Linked DNA regions of Homo sapiens: region 1 is linked to region 2. The links are contacts of gene promoters, found by promoter capture Hi-C in human tissues and cell types (Jung and others, 2019). All regions are on one chromosome and are shown on one strand. Each heading gives the region's core, a stretch centred on a gene start or on the middle of the fragment in contact. The rest is flanking DNA. Distances are from core to core; before and after follow the strand shown.

Region 1 (7,125 bases), core at 4,577-7,076, 210 kb before region 2:
CTTAATCCATCTCTGCTTCTCTGTGTCTTTGCTCCTGTGGGCCCACAAACTCTGGGCATAATTAGATCCCAGGCTCTCCTGGCCACTTTTGCTGTATTTAGTCTTCCGGCAGCCACTTCCCAGCCCCATACCTTTAGCCCCAACTTCCCTCTTATCTCCAATCCCAATCTGTCACTTGGCAATACCTGTCAGCCCTGTCCTTGGGGTTGCCAGATAACTAATGTCTGTGTGCTGGTACATCAGATACCCTCCAGTCGCTCCAGAGTGCCTTGGTAGGTAGGTCCAGAGAGCATACTATGTTTTATCTGCGTAGGTTTACATTTTGAGTCTCAGGGAAAATTTAAGAGACTGGATGTTAATCAGTGCCTCTCCAGTTACCAAGGGCATGGGGCTGACCACTCTCGAAGCTCATGTCACAATATATTTTGATTAACTGTGGCTCCCCACCGCCTGCTCCTGACAGGAGGGACTAAACTGAATCTTTTATCTTTCTATCCTTGGTGTTAGGCACAATGCTTTGAATACAGCAAGTGCTTGATAAATGCTTGTTGAAATATACCAATAGATGAGGCTGACGAGGAGAAGGATGAGTGCTTAATATATGTCAGACCTTATTCTCAGCTCTGTATGTATTGAGTGACTGTGAGTGCACACACGTAATCCTCACAGCAGTCTTGCAGGGTGCCTGCTACTCTCACTCCCTCTCTACACTAATGAAACTGGGTGCATAGGGCGAGATGGCTTCCCTAAGGTCACGTAGTAAGAGGCAGAGTCAACATGCAAACTCAGGTTCCAGACTCCACACTCCTAATGATATGCTGCTTACATGAACTCTATAAAGTCTACTCTACAACAACTCTATAGATATGCAACTCGTCTCTCTCCTGCAACATCTTCCCACAATTTCCAGGATCAGAACTAGAAGAACTTGACCCTCATGAGTGATATTACAAGAAGCAGGGTTGAGAGGAGATTCAGATGCTGGTCCTGACACCTGCCCTGTGTGACTTTGAGACTCAGTTTCCTTATTTATACAATAAAGGGTTTGGATTAGGTGATCTCCAAGGTCCCTATATGTCATCTAAATGCTAGGGAAGGATCTGGCAAGCTCTTTTTTTCGTCTTCTTCTTGAGACGGAGTCTTACTCTGTCACCCAGGCTGGAGTGCAGTGAGGCGATCTTGACTCACTGCAGCCTCCACCTCCTGGGCTCAAGCGATCCTCCCACCTCAGCCTCCCAAGCAGCTGGGATTACAGGCACCCGCCACCACACTCAACTAATTTTTGTAGTTTTAGTAGTTTAGTAGAGACAGGATTTCTACCATGCTGGCCAGGCTGGTCTCGAACTCCTGGCCTCAGGTGATCTGCCCACCTCAGCCTCCCAAAGTGCTGGGATTAGAGGCGTGAGCCATGGTACCTGGCCCAGTGAGCTCCTTAGACTCTTCTGCCTGTCACGACTTGACAGCTGTGGCTTAACGCTGACACAGTGCAGTGTCTCCAACCTCGGTTCATTCACAGTCCCCCTGGATTGGTTTCTACGGCCTTTTGGTGGCTGTAAATTCCTTTGAGAATCTGGTGAAAGCAAAGGGTCACCTCTCAGGACAAAGGAAACATATTTATAACCACACATTTTGCAGATGACTTTAGAGCATTTCAGCCCCCTTAAGGGTCCATCCTTAAGGCCCCAGGATCAAAACTCCCACACTTGAAAACGAGCAGGAAGTAACTGGAGTTGAAGTTAAAAATGGCACCAAGGGAAGATGTGATCAGAGGGAAGGGTGAGCTTGGGCTGAATAGGGCTTGGGTCTGCAGAGGGTCTGCAGAGGGTCTGTAGGCTGCCTAGGCCTCAGCCTGGTTTCCTAAGCCAAAAGTAGGCAGTCAAGACAGCTCAGCGAGCCAGGCAGCAGGTGTGGGGAAGGCATGCTGGGGAGGGCTCTCTCATTTGCCTGTCCCCTGATTTTGCTCGTGGAGACCCTCCTGGGTGTGGGCAGGCAGAGATACACCTGAGTCCTGTCTCACACCTGAGTCCTGTCTCACACCTTCAGAGGGCTCCTACCTGAGCAATCTGCCCCATAGGGAAAATGACTGCTGAGAGCAACAGCTCTCAACTCCTTAGTAGCCCTCATACTGAGGTGCACCTGATCTTTTCTAAATGCCTTAAAGCTTGCGTGCTCCAAGTCTAGCTGCTTTCTTTATATATGGAGACTCTTGCATCTTAAAAGGAGACTTGGCCAGGAGTGGTGACTCATACTTATAATCCCAATGCTTTGGGAGGCCGAGGTGGGAAGTTCACTGGAGCCCAGGAGTTTTATACCAGTCTGAGCAACATGGCAAAACCCCCATATCTACAAAAAATTTAAAAATTAGCTGGGCATGGTGTCTCGCATTTGTAGTCCCAGCTATTCGGGAGGCTGAAGTAGGAGGATCACTTGAGCCCAGAAATTCGAAGCTGCAGCAAACCATGATCATGCATCACTGCACTCCAGCCTGGGTGACAGAGCTAGACCCTGTCTCAACAAAAAGGCTGGGGAGACTCATTTAATTCAATACCTTAAGGTCCCCTAGGCCAGTAGATATCTGTATAGATAGAACTCCAAGGAGCTCAAAGCTTTTAACCTAATTGCTTCTAAATATACCTTTTGGAAAGGCATGCTGAAGTTAAATGTAATACTTTCAAACAGACCCTAAGAAAAAGCTGTGGCTGAATACTTCTCACACACGAATCTGATGGCTGTTTCCCGTTCTGGGTCTTTGCCCCAAATTCGCTAATGCCTCACTATAACTCATGCAGAGGAGCTTATTTTCCTAAGACTTCTTGCCTGTTGCTCTTCAGCACCGTTCACTCTCCTTTAGTCTGTTGGGGGACAGTTAACCCACCTTTCTGGGGCAGCCAGATCTACCTCTTTATAGGTTAAAAGCCCTGTTGTTTGCTGTAGAAAAGAAAATGCACAGGAGACCTCAGAAACTCATGTCAATATTAGGAGCTTGAAGACCCGTAAGTAAACAAGGGGGCTGGGTTTTCCTTTTGTGTGTTTGCTTTGAGTTGCCTGCTCTGAGATATTGCTATCTTTGCCTTTGCTGAGGAATATTTACTGCTTTCTTAAAAGCTGACCATGAAAGTGGCTATAACTAAGTTTTAAAAAGCTTTATCAGGCCAGGCGCCATGGCTCACGCCTGTAATCCCAGCACTTTGGGAGGCTGAGGTAGGCAGATCACTTGAGGTCAGGAGTTCGAGACCATCCTGGCCAACATGGAGCAACCCCATCTCTAGTAAAAATACAAAAACTTAGCTGGGCGTGGTGGTGCGCGCTTGTAATCTCAGCACTCGCGAGGCTGAGGCAGGAGAATCGCCTGAACCCGGGAGACGGAGGTTGCAGTGCAGCCGAGATTGCGCCACTGTACTCCAGCCTGGGCTACAGAGTAAGACTCTGTCTCAGAAAAAAAAAAAAAAAGCATTATCATTTGAGTGGAGCTATTCATGTGGATGAGATGCGTTTTTCACTGGTAATGAGAGCAAACAAAGTGAGGGGTGAGAATACGAGGCATTATTTGGGGGAATGCAGTGTCCCACCACGATCTTACAAAATGGAGCATCTATACTTTTGTCTCTACTATGTACTGGTTTTGGATTCAGCGATGCCCACCTGTATCTCATAACGGGAAAACACAACTCAGGCAGAATTGACTGTTGAATAAATAGGCATTACCCGGATGGAATTACACCAAGCAAACGATATCTGTTTTAAAAACAGCTGCTTTCCAGTTTGTTTTTTACAATGTAATATTCAGCCTGCCTGTGACCAGCTGTGGCTGAGTTGTAGGGTGTTCGTGGAGATTATGGGAGGCAGCGTTAAATGTTGCGTTTCTTTTGCTTTTTAAAATCCACCCTTTTGTTCTGTCCTCAGAGAGGAATGTGCATCTTTTGTTCTTAGCTACTCAGCTTCGGCCGGGTCTGGCGGCGCCTTTGAGTAACATGGGCAACGCGCGCCCTCTTCTGGACAATCCACTAATTGCAAATTCTGTAAAGCATTGGTCTGGTTATCAAGCGGGCCCTGAATTTGAATGTTCTTGGTAGAGAACACAAAAGAAATTATGACATGTTCCCTGCATTCAAAGGGCCTGCTTTTATGTTAGAAGATTAAACAGCTTGCTTTGGGATTTTCAGTGTGATTTGGAGAGACCAGAGAATATATTCTTTTAATCGTGTTTCTTAAAAAGGTATTTCTTTTATAGCCAAAATTTCATTTTAAAAATCTAACGATTTATTTTCTTTCTCTATTTGAATTATTTTTGAATTTATATGATTTAAACGGCTTCCTGGCCTGGCGCAATGGCTCTCACCTGTAATCCAAGCACTTTGGGAGGCTGAGGCAGAAGGATCGCTTGAGCCCAAGAGTTCCAGACCAGCCTGGGTAACATAGAGAGACCCTGTCTGTACAAAAAATACAAAAATTAGCCAGGCATGGCGGCCATTTCTCTAGTCCCAGCTACTCAGGAGGCTGAAGTGGGAGAGTCCCTTGAGCCTGGGAGTTCCAGGCTGCAGGGCACTGTGATCGCGCCCCTGCACCCCAGCTTGGACAACAGAGCAAGACCCTATCCCTAAAAAACAAACAAACAAAGCCTTCCTTTTAAAAGAGTAGAAACAAGATAAATAGCAAAGGTGTGTAGGACATTTGTTTTCAGTAAAGATAACTGGATCTTTAAAATCACTACATGAAGATCAATTATTCCATGTAAATCCCAAATAAAATCAATAATTTATCACAAAGTGCTTAGAGCAATATTCTCTACTCCCCTAAAGTCCTGTTTATCAAAAGTGAAACATTTATTTCAGTCTCTCCAGACTGAAGATTACAGAGCAAAATACTCTGTATTTACTTTTTTTTTTCACTCAGCCGAGAAGAGGGGAATAGAATCCCCATGGCCTTGCCATTCCCTTAACCTCACTTGTGGGACTGTTCAGTTTGTGGATCATCAGCAAATTTCTGGTCTATCACTCAGTAACATAAGACCTTGGGAAGATTACTTAAAGTTTGTAAATCTCAGTCTCACTATATGAAAAAGGGGGATAATAGTGGGGGGAATTAAATGAGCTAACCTGTGGTAGGTGCTGGGCCAGTGCCTTGCATTTAATAAATGTTCAATAAATGTTAGCCACCACCATCACCACCACCACTACCACCATCACCACAACTGCCACCATTACCCCCACCACCACTACTGTCACCACTGCCATCACCACCATCAGCATCACCACCACCATTACCACCACCACCAACATACCACTACCTCCACCATAACCACTACCACCACCACCATCACCACCACCATACCACTACCACCATCACCACCACCACCATCACCACCACCACCACCATCACCACCACCACCACCAGCATCACCACCATCACCACCACCACCACCATCACCACCATCACCACCACCATCACCACCATCACCACCACCACCACCACCATCACCATTACCACCATCACCACCCCCACCACCACCACCACCATCACCACCACCACCATCACCACTACCACCACCAGCATCACCATCACCACCACCTTCACCACCACCATCACCATCACCAACATCACCACCCCCCCACCACCATCAACACCATCACCACCACCATCACTACCATCACCACCATCACCAACACCACCATCACCATTACCACCATCACCACCCCCACCACCACCATCACCACCATCACCACCACCATCACCACCATATCACTACCACCACCACCACTACCATCACCACCATCACCACCCCCACCACCACCATCAACACCATCACCACCACCATCACCACCACCACCATCACCATTACCACCATCACCACCCCCACCACCACCATCACCACCATATCACTATCACTACCACCACCACCACCACCACTACCATCACCACCATCACCACCACCACTACCACTACCATATCACTATCACTACCACCACCACCACCACCACTACCATCACCACCATCACCACCACCACTACCACTACCATATCACTATCACTACCACCACCACCACCACCACTACCATCACCACCATCACCACCACCACTACCACTACCATATCACTACCACCACCATTACCACCCCACCACCACCACCAGCATCACTACCACCACCACCCCCACCACCAATAGCATCACCACTGCCATCACCACCACTGCCTCAATCACCACCACCATCAAAATCACTTTCTTTCTGTATTTCTCTGCTCCTCTTTTACTTTTTATTGTAAAATAAAACATATAGAAACCTTCCAAAATAAAAGTAGAACTTAATGAGTCATAATAAGGTGAACGCCCATGTAACCAAAAGAACCAGTCACCCCAGAACGCTCCATTGTGCTGTTCCAGCCTCAACTCCCTCCCTTCCCCAAAAAGGAACCACTGTCCTTTTACTGTAGTGACTTTCCTGTTTCTTTTTGGTTTTAGGACCCAAATGTGCCTGACTAGACACTTTAGTTTAGTCTGTACCTCCCCCAATTTTTCTACCTTATGTCTTTTAAGTTTATTATAATGTATAGGCTTCTCTCCATTCCTTGCAGTTTGCCTGCTGAAGAAGCTGGGGTATTTGATGTGTAGAACATCTCAGAGTCTGGCTCTGAGGTGACTGCAGGCTCATGGTGCAATTCAACATGTTCCTCTGTCTGTCTTTCCTGCCAGCTTGGAAGCTGGGGCCAGAGGCTGCGTCAGACTCCTCTTCTATCCCTAGACTCGTGTTGTCTCTTTGGCAAGATTCTAGGTAGTGCTGTGTCCTTTCATTAGCTCAGTGGCTAGATTTATGTGGTCTGCAAAATGACGATATTCTAATGTCACCATTTATTTTGCATCCTTTAGTTAAAATACTTTTAGTAAGCATTTCTGCCCTTCATGCTGTATTTGATTTCTCCGCGGTACAGTTCACATAGGAAAAAAAACTTGATTTTCTTTGCTTTAATTACCCAGTTTTCAAGAAAGTGAATGTGTTCCCGTGGTGGTTGTAAAACTTGACTGCAAATTCTGCAGCGCTTCTGCCTTCAAGAGATGGGATCTACATCCCGCTTGTTGAATCTGGAGGGGCATAGGAGAGCATTAAAAATGACAATTTGTGCCGGGTGCAGTG
Region 2 (6,685 bases), core at 652-3,151:
ATGCTTTTCAGAATGTCAAGGAAGGGGCATCAGAAGGTTATCTGAAGTTTAAGGTATTTGTACTGAAAATGCAAAGGAACCAGAGGCAGTAGAATGTGTCTTCTTTCCTAGGTGGCGGTGATTCCCAGGTCTGGTTGATCAAGACTGCAATGCACAACAGGAACCTCAGAGAACTGTCACAGCAGCTCTCAGTGACACTTAGGATACAGATGCAGCTTAAGTGACCCTTTTTTATATCCATTTAGCACTCATTTTTCCCAAAAGAAGACCTGTTTGGGTCAATTTGTTACTGTCCCAGGGCAGGCTTTTGCACTGTGTCGCTTTAGAGGCAGGGGCGGAGGAAAACTTGGGACTGTAACATCAGTACTGCACAAAGCCCTCTTCCGTATACAGCATAAGCACTATTCTATAAAATCCCCAGCAAGCCTTTGTTTCCTTGCAGTCAGCTCCTTTTCTGCTGATTCTGCCCATTGCTCCCTTGCAACGTATTTTCATGCTTTCTCTAATGATTCTGCCTTTCTTTACTTACAACTGCCTTGGTAAATTTTTCTGCCACAGCGCCACTGGCCTCAGATAGTCACCACTCACCTGCAACAAGCCTGAGAGCCAATTAAGACAAGGCTTTCCCCAAGTAGCACAAATGTATATACCACTACTGTAGTTACTTAATGTACTCATTTATCATTTTAAAATTACCTTATGTACCATCAGTTACATGGTATAACTCTTACAGGAAAAACCAAATTAATGGAACTCTGCAATTCAATGTACCCCTTCCTCTGCCTCCAGCAGAAGCAACAGGGGACATAAATTCCAACTTTAGATGCTACTCTTATAGCATCTACAAGACTTACTACACTGTGTGTGTGTGTGTGTGTGTGTGTGCGTGCGTGTGTGTGTGTTACAGAGTCTCACTCTGTCGCCCAGGCTGGAGTGCAGTGGCGGGGTCTTGGCTCACTGCAACCTCTGCCTCCTGGGTCCAAGCGATTCTCCTGCCTCAGCCTCCCGAGTAGCTGGGATTGTACAGGCGTCCGCCACCACGCCTGGCTAATTTTTGTATTTTTATTAGAGATGGGATTTCACCATGTTGGCCAGGCTGGTCTCAAACTCCCTACCTCAAGTGATTTGCCCGCCTCGGCCTCCCAAATTGCTGGGATTACAGGTGTGAGCCACAGCGCCCAACCGTACTTCTTACACCTAAAAATGGTTCAAAACACCATAGAATAATTTTCAAAATAATTGAATTCTGAGTTAAAATTTTTCAGCACTTTCAGGGGCCTGAGCTTTTGCTATGAATCTGGATCTATTCTCAAGCCATGAAGTAGCGTATTTTTGACCATGTTGATTTGAAATTCATTCCGTTGTTTCCTTCTTTTTTAAAACCTAAGGGAAAAACAAACAGACATACACAGGATTTGAAAAGCTGGAAAGCAGTGGGTAGCGGCTCGGGAGAAGATGAGGGGTCAGATTAGAAGACGAGAAAGGAATCCAGTCCGCCCCAGACAGGACAAGTCCGGAAGGATGGAGGCAGCGTTTCCTTCCTCAACAGCCTAAACGCCTCTATTTTTTACATCCAAACTTAGGCCATATTTCTGCGGCGCCAAGAAAACGCAGTAAAAGCAAAGGCAAGATGTCCTTAAAAAAAAAAAAGGTCACATTCACAGAATACCGAGGAGACGGAGGCAGCTCTGCAACCCGTCCACTGAGACGCGGACACGCTCCCCACAGCCCCGGCCCCAGGCCCGCGCCCCTTCCCCCGCCGGCGGCTCGGATGGGTCGCTAGGGGTCGCTGCGCGCCGCGCGGGCGAGGACCGGCCTCTTTCCCCCACCTCCACCGTCTCGCTGCTCCGCCCCCGCGGCGTAGTCGGCGCCAAAATCAAACGCGTCCTGGCCTGTCCCGCCCCTCTCCCCAAGCGCGGGCCCGGCCAGCGGAAGCCCCTGCGCCCGCGCCATGGTAAGGACTGAGGCTACGGTCCCGCGTCTTCTTCCTCCCTAGTGTGTGGGCTTCGCCGCCCCTCGGCTGCATGTGGATCCCGGCCTGGCGTTGACCGCCATTCCGGGCCGCGGGAGCGGTCGCCCGGCTCTCGGCCTCACCGTGTAGGGGCCCAGCCCGGCCCCGCCGCAGCCACTCCGCACTCTGCGGCGTTCCCCGCCGCTCCTGTCCGGAGTCCCGAGGCGCGGGGGCATCCGCGGCCTCCCCGCCGGCTGCACCCCGCGTCTGTCCCCAGGGCCCGTTCGGGCGGGTTAGGTTAGAACGCGGGAAGCGTTCGCGAACGTGACCCGAGAACTTCACCAACCTGGATTTATCTAAAAGACCACGGGGCCCTTGAGAACCTGGGCTCCCTACGCCTCCAGCTTCGGCCCCGCGTGGTGTAGCCCCCCCCATTAAGAACGGGGAGAGAAAGCGCAAGTGGGCGGGAGGGACTGCGGGGAGCGAACGTCTTGATCCCAAAGCGCACTCCTGGTTTGTCACCATTGAGTGGTTTTCTGTATTGTAATATGTAGAGCACATTCCAGAACTGCTCAGTTTCGAGTTACCTAATGGATCTTCACTGTGTGCCAATTAGTCGATTTCTGTGAAAACGCCCCGGTTTCTGCCAAAGGGCAGGAGTCGCTGCTCTTGTGCCGGGTGCTGCTGGTTGTGTAGGGCGCTGTTGCTTTTTTAAGGACGCTCTGCACTGAATTAGGCTTCCTCGTGGGTCATGATCAGTTAAGTCCTGGTAAGATCGGCTTTGTGAGCTTAACGTCTTTCTGCTCATCAAATCATTTTCATAAACCTTCAAAGTTTCATGCCGTTTTTTCTGCTTCAGTTGGCGAAGAATCAACATCTGGTTAAATGGATCTAAGATTTTAATATCTTCATTTACTTACGTGGCCGTTAAATGTTGCCGAGCTAAGGGGGGCAGGGTGGGACACCAGGATCCAGTTGTATGGTATTTATTTGAAGATATTTGTCCAGATGTAGTTATAAATGATAACGGCTTCTTTGTGGTTAAACTAACAACCCAGCCACCTGGGCGTGAAGTGCTCTAAGGAGCCAAACAGGACTACAGTTAAAACAAATCTGTTAGCAGTGCCCTTCTGTGTTACAATTTTTCTCTGCAGAGTTGCTGGCCTCGTATAACTGACTTGGAGAACTGTGCAGCTCAAACGCGCGTTGTCCTTTTACCTAATCTATCTCTCTACACATGAATCACCTGCTAATACTAAATGTGTTAACTCTTTAGAAGCTTACCTCCGATAATAGAGAATCCTTTTAAAAAATTAAAGCTTTTGATAAGATGTGGACTTCCTATTTTTTAATATGTGATCGAGAAATAAATTTAGTGTTGGTCAAAGGTAAACTTTTGATTGATTATGAATTAATAGCTGTTTTCATTTGGTTAGGCATCCTAAGTAAATAGTTAATGAGTTCAGGCAATTTTTGAAATTGGAGAAGTGCAGTGCTGAACTCTGAGAGCAGCAGTGATGTCTACTTAATAATTCTTCATAATTTTATCGTAATTGATTAGTAGGGCTGGCTGTAGGAATTCCATAACTTCTAACTGAGAAGGTTCCTCAGATAACATGATTTTTTAAGTGGTTTAAAATACTTCCAGAAAGCTTCATAGTCCTTGAGTCAGGTTTTGAGTCTCCTGACTTACTAATTTGAATGCATCTCTAACTTATACTATCAGGTTTTTCCTAGTCTTAATTAAATATTAGATAAATCCTCATTGATTTTTTTGAGAAGTTTCTAAATATGAGTATTAATATGGCATCTTTTTACATTAGTTATTTTAATTCTGGCTATGATACTCCTACTGTGGTTAATAATAGAAATTATTTCTAGTCATGAAAGAGACTGATGAATAAATCAGCCTGAAAACAAGGTAAATGGATGATACAGCTCATCCACATTTCTTGAGTAACTTTCATAGCTGCTGAGCTGAGTGTTGAGAGCTTTCCTAAAACTGGGTACCCCAGGACGCTAGATTCTCCTCATTGCCTGCCTCTGGGGGGCAGATTCTTGTGGAGTGCAAGGAGCTGTTTCGAATATCAAAATGTTAGGAGTCTTTCCTAACACTTCAGGATCTGCTTTCTGCTAGTGCAGCGACACACTGAAATTCTAAAGGGATTCCCATTGCCCCGCAGCGCCCTTGACATGGCCTTCAGATTCTGGGCTGACAAAAGTAGGGTTCTCAACCCTGGGGCACAATTAAAAAATATGTTGGAGAGGATTTTTAAAATAAGTTGGAGGATTTAAAAAATATGTTGCCCAGGTCCCATTCCAGAGATTTTGATTCCATTCATTAGAGATGAGCCTGGGCATCGGTATTTTTTAAAAACTCCTGAGGTGATTCTAATGTATGGCAGTTTAGGACCTATTGGACTAGAAAAATATGTTGAAGGAGTCTTCTAACTGTTATGAATTTCATGCTTGATTTGTCAGATACTGCAGAGGTGAGAATGAAGGGAGGCAAATAGAGCAGTCCTGGACCCTAGCTCTCAGCCCTAGGTTTAGTGAGCAGATCTGTATGGGTTCCTGGAGTTTGCCTAACTGAGATTTCTCTGATTTGTCTCTTCAAGCCAGGCAATACATGATGTCACTGAATTCACTATGATTAATTCACCTGTTATATCTATGGGAGTATGGTAGGTGTTGGGGGGCTTAGGAGCCTGAGCAGCCTCAAATTTTAGAGTTGGGGGCTTTAGATACATGGTCCTAAAATTAAGAGCTTTATGTCTCCCTTGTCTAACTTGGCACTAAGCCCTGGAAAGGCAAAGGCAGTTCATGTTCTGAAGAAGTTTTTCAGTGTGCTGATACGGACAAGTAAACATCTTTTCAATGTAGTGAGTGATTTGATGAAGGTGTGTTCTGGGAATACATGCTTAGCCTGTGAACTCAGGGAAGTTCTGGAGGGAGAGTGCCTAAACTAAGCCTTGGGAGATGTTTTGGAGTTTTGACTAGGCAAGAAGTGAGGATGTTCTAGGTGGAGGAACATTTTTTTTAAGGATGGAAATGAGAGCATTCTTCGAGTAGATAATTACAGGCAGTTTTTGTATTACAAGTTGCTTAGGTCTCCATACTGTTAATGGCAAAGTTTGAGGTGGGGTGTGGTGGAAGAGGCTATAAAAGGTAGGTTGGGGTTAGGTGATAAAGGGCCTTGTATATCATACTGGGGTACTCAGAAACGTCTGGATGTCTGGGAGCCACTGGAGGGTTTTGAGCAAGGCAGGGAAAAAGGTCTTATTTATGTTTTCCCAGTGCGGAATGTGAACATAGAGGGTGAGTCAAAGTGTGGTTAGGGGACTGGAGGTATATTGCAGGAGATAGATGATGAAGGCCTGAATGAGGCAGTGGTAGTAGAGATAGAACAGACAGGACAGATAAGAGAAATAATTAAATGCTGAAACTGGCAGAACTTGGTGATTGGTTGGATGTGAGATAAGGAGGTGAAGGTACCTAGGATGACTGTCAGGCCTCTGGCTTGGGTCACGAGATAGTATCTGAGACTCAAGGTCTAGAACAGCAAGTTTGTGGGGAGTAGGTATGAGAGAGGAAGAGTTCAGTTTAGACTGACGGAGTTGAAGTTTGTCCAGCAGGCGGGTAGATGCATGACACTGAAGCTCAGGAGCACACCCAGGGGTGAATGTAAAGATTTGAGGTCTCAGCATAAGTGTTAATTAAAACCATGAAAGCAAATGAGATCAAAGATAAGATATTAGGAGATGGGATCAGTAGCCAAACCCAGCAGAAAAACAGTGTTTGAAAGTGGACCGAGGAAGAAGAGAAAAATATAAACTTTAAGCTATTTATTTACCCATATTACTCATCAAGAAACACCTGATCATTTTATTCCTGTGGGAATGAGTTAGTGGGTTGTTGTTTTTTTTTGTGTGTGTGGGCTTTGTTTTGTTTTGTTTTGAGACAGTGTCTTGCTTTGTTGCCCAGGCTGGTCTCAAACTCCCAGCCTCAAGTGATCCTCCAGCCTCAGCCTCCCAAAGTGCTGGGATTACAGGTGTGAGCCACCGCCCAGCCAAGTTAGTGGGTTTCTAGGTTTTACAAGAATTAAGACTCACTCACTCCAGTATGTAGCCAGAATGGCAATTCCAAATCCTTGTCTTCACTTATGTAAACTCACGTTTTCTGATGATGTTTTTGGTTGGATGGGGCAGTCTTTAACTGTTGTTTTATGTCTGCTTTTTAAGCAAACAATTTATATTCCTTTATAATCCCCTACAATTTTTGAGAAAGATGCAGATCACATAAGAAATATTAGTGTGGAGTTTTTTTATTAGAGAACTGGAGGTGATAGTTCTCACTCTTTTTTTTTTTTTTTTCTGTAAACCTTTGGTTTGGAGGAAATTTGGCTCCTTTCTCTTTTAACTTAGGATTTAGCTTTATATATTCTATGTACAATATATTGTAAAATTTATTATTAACATATATTTCAGCTACATATTGTCTTAATTTCAAGTTGGCTAAAGGGTATTACAGAAGAATAACCTGAGTGGGCTTCCATTTTCTACTTGGATAGGCCTTTCCCCCTTCCATCTTCTCTTCCACATTGCTGCTATAATTAACTTAACGAAAATGCAACTCTAATCTTGTCACTAGTCTGCTTTAGAAATTACTCAGCAGCTCCTCATTGTCTAGAATGAAGTCCACTGTCAGCTGGACAGTCAGCTTTCCATAACCTGA

Evidence for each region. The method cuts DNA at HindIII sites, captures the fragments that hold promoters and counts their contacts. A contact is called where the count stands out against the background at its distance.
Region 1: a fragment that was not itself captured here is called in contact with the fragment with the promoter of MND1 in region 2 in 1 of the 25 tissues and cell types used here (dorsolateral prefrontal cortex).

The regions. Positions count from the first base shown.
Region 1 is chr4:153,124,103-153,131,227 of GRCh38, forward strand. No RefSeq gene overlaps it. Among named protein-coding and RNA genes, the nearest start is that of TRIM2, 77 kb to the right of the region's middle. The HindIII fragment of the contact is 6,887 bases long and covers 2,384-7,125 here.
Region 2 is chr4:153,342,787-153,349,471 of GRCh38, forward strand. MND1 (meiotic nuclear divisions 1) reads left to right here and starts at 1,902. Exons shown (of 8, transcript NM_032117.4): 1 at 1,902-1,954. The coding sequence starts at 1,952. RefSeq lists silencers at 1,671-1,980, 2,111-2,270 and enhancers at 2,751-2,810, 2,891-3,010. The HindIII fragment of the contact is 8,470 bases long and covers 1-3,436 here.